2 separate regions of the Homo sapiens genome follow, and region 2 is linked to region 1. Evidence: promoter capture Hi-C in human tissues and cell types (Jung and others, 2019). All regions are on one chromosome and are shown on one strand. The core of a region is centred on a gene start or on the middle of the fragment in contact, and the rest is flanking DNA. Distances in the headings are between cores, read along the strand shown.

Region 1 (2,700 bases), core at 17-2,516:
CCAAGGTCTTCTGTGGCCTTTGGTATGAACCAGTACCAATTCAGGAAGTGACTTGTCCGAAGTCACATGAGGAATTAGGACCCGAGCTGGCACTGGTAACTGCCTGTTTAGTGTGGCCCTCAGTATTTGTTGACTAAACTAATGACCAAAACATGTATGCACAGACACAGCTGTGCGTCTGTGCCCATGCAGTGGGTGTGTCTGCCTAAGGACCTGTGGGGGTGTGGGAATACTGCTGTGACGGTTCAATTGTGGTGCTCAGGAGTGTTCCCTAGGTTCAGAAAGTTCCTAACCCTGGGCTGGTTGGCTGGATATTGATAGGACTGGAGCTTGTCTGGGCTTCCTTTGTGCCTGGTGTTTACTCTCTGTGGTGGTGATCTCTTTACTCGACTCTTCCCTATTCGTACTGATCTCCCTGAGGACAGGAATCAAACTGTGTTGCAGGGTTTCCCTAATAAACAGCATAGTGTTTGGCACTTTGTAGGTGGTCAGTAAATGCTTATTGAAGAAGGCTGCAGAAAAGAACTCAGAACCTGACAGCGGTTCTTTGCTAGCATTATATTTTAAAGGCGGTGGTACATTCTGTAAGTAAATTTCCTGCTATTCTCAAGGACTGAGTTGATTAAATGTGTACAGCAGTGGTATAGAGAGGACAGATACTCTTGTGGTGTTACTCCTTGGGAAGGTGGAGGTTTCTCTCAGCTCTTTCTGAAAGCTTTGCTTATGCTTTTCAGCTTGCATTAATATTTTTGTTTCTCCTTTCCTCTGCCTGCCTTCTTACTGTTTGTCTAAAGAAATTAAAGAATTACCTTATTAATAACAGTAACTACCAAAAACTGCAAAACACACTGTTAAAAATGCTCCCAAAGTGGGGGCTAATTGACCCAGTTGTTTTGTTAGTTATATATTTGCTTCCACAGTGGATCATGGAAACGGAAAGTTGGACTTCCTTGCCTCTTTGCTTTCTTTGCCTGTCTGCCCTTTGATGGTGCTTGTATTAGGCTTGTTGTTAAGAAGTGGTTCCCAACTGGAAATGGCCAATGCCACGTGGGAACTGACCTCTACATGTTGATGGGTCACCCAACCTTCTTTCCCTTCTGTTTCAGAATGTACCTGTGACATCTCTTTGACTCTCCACTGTTGCCCTTGAAGAACAGAGATGAGTTTTCTTCCTTTTTCATAAGGAAGCCACTTTTATAGCGAAAGAGAGCTGGAGAACTGGGATATCATGAGGAGTTGTAGACAGTTAAACCTGAATTCTAGCTTTTGGAACAAAATAGTAATGTAATTGTAGCAGTTCTCACTTTTTTATTTTTTATTTTTTTGAGACGGAGTTTCACTCCTGTTGCTTAGGCTGGAGTGCGATGGCGCAGTCTCGGCTCACTGCAACCTCCGCTTCCCGGGTTCAAGGGAGTCCCCTGCCTCTGCCCCCCAAATAGCTGGGATTACAGGCGTGCGCCACCATGCTCGGCTAATTTTTTGTATTTTTAATAGAGATGGGGTTTCACTATGTTGGTCAGGCTGGTCTCGAACTCCTGACCTCAGGTGATCCGCCTGCCTTGGCCTCCCAAAGTGTTGGGATTATAGGCGTGAGCCAACGCGCCTGGCCAATTCTCACTTTTGGACCATCTACTACAGGGCTGTTTGGACATACCTCCTTTAATTGTCACAGTAACCCCATGACGTAATTGGTTGTGCCTGGTCATACAGGTAAGAAAACTGAGGCTTAGAGAGGTTTAGAATTTTGCTGAAGGTCATACTAGTGAGTAGAAGGCAAAGTAGGCTTCAGGCTTAGAACTGTCAGATTCCAAAGGCAGTATTTTTTGTCCATCTGTTGTCTGTTTCGATTCAATGCTTTCAAAGAGATACAAATTCAAATTTAAAATAATTTAAATTGTTGAATATGGCTTACATTTTAAAGCTTTGCATAGGTTTTATTGGCATAAAAATAATGTTCTTTTGCAGCTAGTTTGCTGGTGTTTTATTCTCTAGAGACCAACAGCTAGGGCTTAGTGTTTATCTGATGAGTTTTAGTTTATGCATTCAGTTTTGCTCCAGGATATAAATAGTGAAATGTTGAATTAAGTTATGGAGTGGTGTGAAATTCAGCATGCTAAGGCAATCAAACAGAAGTCTTCTGAGCCATTTGAGAAGCAGCTTGATGTCCTTGTTCTTAGAACAGGGCTGTCCAATCTTTAGACTTTCTTGGGCCACATTGGAAGAAGGCCATACATAAAATACACTAACCCTAATGATAGCTGATGCACTAAAAAATAAAATTGCAAAAAAATCTCATAACGTTTTAAGAAAGTTTACAAATTTGTGTTGGGCTGCATTCAAAGCTGACCTGGGCTGGGGCCATGAGTTGGACAAGCTTGTTCTAGAATATTTTCGGCAAATTTTGGTAAGGGGGAAAATAAGTAATAGTAATAATAGTAGTAAATAGTAATAATTGCTGTCAAAGCAGCTACCATTTATCGAGTTCTAGTAACTGTGAGGCACCATGCCAACTACTTACATATTATTTCACCCAATTTTCCGAACATCCTGTCAAGTAGGTGGTGGGAATTTTCGTTTTATAGATCAGGCTTGGAAACGTGACTTGTCCGATTGAGTCAGGATCTGAACATAGGTCTTTTAACTCTAAAGCTTATACCCAAACACTGGGTTCTGTGAAATTTCAAAAGCATATGATAGGCT
Region 2 (2,700 bases), core at 169-2,668, 930 kb before region 1:
CGATCTCCTGACCTCGTGATCCGCCCGCCTCAGCCTCCCAAAGTGCTAGGATTACAAGCGTGAGCCACTGCGCCCGGCCAGCTTTCTCTTTTTCTTTTTTCAGACGGAGTCTCGCTCTGGGCTCTGTCGCACAGGCTGGAGTGCAGTGGCGCGATCTCAGCTCACTGCAACCTCCGCCTCGCGGGTGCAAGCAATTCTCTTACTCAGCCTCCCAAGTGGCTGGGATTACAGGCGCCCGCTACCACGCCCGGCTAATTTTTGTATTTTTTACTAGAGACGAGGTTTCACCATCTTGGCCAGGCTGGTCTTGAACTCCTGACCTCGTGATCCACCCGCCTGGGCCTCCCAAAGTGCTGGGATTACAGGCGTGAGTCACCGCTCCCGGCCTCAATTCTTAACCTAGCTATCAACTGCAGTGTTAAAGAAAAACGCCTCAGTCCTAAGGCACTTGGTCAAGAAAACGCTGCACTACTACAAAATGATCAAAGCAGCATTAAACTGTGGACTGTTCGGTAAGTGCGGAGCTCTAGAGACGATGAAGGGGAGAGCATCTCTGCTCAGAAGAAGCTTTCATGGGCAGCGACTGAAAGAATGAGGCCCAGAGGAATTTCTAGGAAATTTCCAAGAAAGGAAATTCAAACCCGAGAATTCCCAAGAGGTGTCTCCCACACCCCTGTTATCTGACTCTGCCATGGCCACCCTCCCCCGTCACAGGTCTCTGCGTGCCATGCACCTAGAGTCCACTTCATGGCGACTCTCCAACACCTATTTTCTCCAGGAGCTGCTTCGGACCCCGTTTGTTTTTTGTTTTGTTTTGTTTTTCTGACAGCGACAGCCCTTGGGCAACGCTAATCATTCCAAGCAAATTCTGTCATGCCAAGACCTCCCTTAACAGCACGCGCCCACTTGTTCCCAACTCTCCTGCCAATTGGGCTTCGGGAGCCTCCAAAACCAAGGCTCGGAGATGTGGAGCACACAGGGGAAGGGTCGAGCTGGGACCCACACCCGGCTCTTACACCCACACCGCCTGTTGAGCCCAAGGCTCAACTTCAACACAAAGCTCTCCTTCCCTCAATTCCTTCAACGAAGGTTAACCTTCAGCGAACACCTACCGGACCGGGACAGAGTGTACGAGCCGCGCGGGAAGGTGGCACAAAGGCATGGCCCAGAGGGGTGGCAGAAGACTCAACCGGGGCCCTCCACTCCCCAGCCTGCCCTGCCTGGGCAGAGCCGGCTGGCCGGCCCGAGTCCTGGGGCTCGCGGAGGAACGGAGATGGCCTCCGCAGGGGCTCGGGGAAGCCCCCAGGGCGCCGGACCGTCTCAGGCGCGCATCCCGCGCCACTCACCTGTGGGATCCATAGCGTCGCTCGCCTCAGAGATGGAAGCCGCCATTCCGCCACGGCGCCGAAAGTCGTCATCAAGCTGCGCGCAGAGCCACGCCCCGCGGCCGGGCGGGAAAAGCGCTTCCACCTCTTTGGGCCGTTACCTCAAAAGGCGCGTGCGCAAAGCGAAGGCCGGCCGGGCGGGGAAGAGAAATGGCGAGGCAGGAGTGCGGGGGAGGGAGTGGTCCTTAGCTGAATGCGCCTGCGTTGTGGCGGCCTCCGGCGCCCCAAGGTACTTTCTCCCCAGCAAGGAATCCGCGTGCGCGTAAGCAGTATTGTTGATTAGTGCCCCCCCCTTCCCCCCGCCCGCCCCGAAAAGCGACCCCTAGTGGTGCACCGGTGCGGACCAGAAAATTGCACGCTTTCTTGAAAGAGGCATTTACCGAGCGCCCAATGTATGCCTGGCACTGGGCTGGGTGCTGCCACCTAAGCGAGCACGACCAATGCAGTCTATCAGGGAGGCCCAGATCGCCAAGCAGCGGACCCCTGCGGTCCGCCATGCCACTCCCGGCTCCTAGAGCGCCGCTCAGCACACCGTGAGCGCCCAATAACTGTTGGGCTTCAATGACGCCGCGGAGGCGGCCCCGTCCCCGCGCTCCCGCCCCTCCCGCCAGGGCAGCCCGGGAGGCCAGACGTTGACGCTGCAGGGAGAGGGTGGTGGGCGCAGCCGCTAGGGGGCGCGGCGGGGCGGAGCGCACCTTTCCGCGGGCCGCGGGGATGGCGGCGCAGGGCGTAGGGCCTGGGCCGGGGTCGGCGGCGCCCCCGGGGCTGGAGGCGGCCCGGCAGAAGCTGGCGCTGCGGCGGAAGAAGGTGCTGAGCACCGAGGAGATGGAGCTGTACGAGCTGGCGCAGGCGGCGGGCGGCGCTATCGACCCCGACGTGTTCAAGTGAGCGGGGCGGGTGGGGGCCGCATGCTAGCCAGACACCCCCCGACCTCTGCTTTCCGGGTACGCCCGGCCCGCTGGTCGGGAGGAGCCCCCGCCCCCGTCCTTGTCGGGTCTTCAGGGAGGTGGCCGCGCCGGGCGGAGAGGGCTCACCGGCCCCGCGTCTGTCCCCGCCAGGATCCTGGTGGACCTGCTGAAGCTGAACGTGGCCCCCCTCGCCGTCTTCCAGATGCTCAAGTCCATGTGTGCCGGGCAGAGGCTAGCGAGCGAGCCCCAGGACCCTGCGGCCGTGTCTCTGCCCACGTCGAGCGTGCCCGAGACCCGAGGTCAGAGCTGGGCCCGCTGTCCCTGCCCCAGTGGCGGGGGTGGCGGGCGGGGAGGGGGCAGGCGCGGCACAGCGGCGGCGTGGCCCTGAGTGGCCAGGCCTGTCTGTC

What was found. Contacts are between HindIII fragments. The study calls those that stand out against the background at their distance.
Region 2: a contact is called between the fragment with the promoter of SMPD4 here and a fragment that was not itself captured in region 1, in 1 of the 25 tissues and cell types used here (dorsolateral prefrontal cortex).

What each region holds. Positions count from the first base shown.
Region 1 is chr2:131,106,355-131,109,054 of GRCh38, forward strand. All of the region lies in intron 1 of PLEKHB2 (pleckstrin homology domain containing B2), which reads left to right. Among named protein-coding and RNA genes, the nearest start is that of PLEKHB2, 2.4 kb to the left of the region's middle. The HindIII fragment of the contact is 3,190 bases long and covers 1-2,700 here.
Region 2 is chr2:130,180,184-130,182,883 of GRCh38, forward strand. SMPD4 (sphingomyelin phosphodiesterase 4) reads right to left here and starts at 1,419. Exons shown (of 20, transcript NM_017951.5): 1 at 1,347-1,419. MZT2B (mitotic spindle organizing protein 2B) reads left to right here and starts at 2,079. Exons shown (of 3, transcript NM_025029.5): 1 at 2,079-2,269; 2 at 2,444-2,592. The coding sequence starts at 2,100. RefSeq lists an enhancer at 331-1,127 and silencers at 1,175-1,314, 1,825-2,334. The HindIII fragment of the contact is 11,545 bases long and covers 1-2,700 here.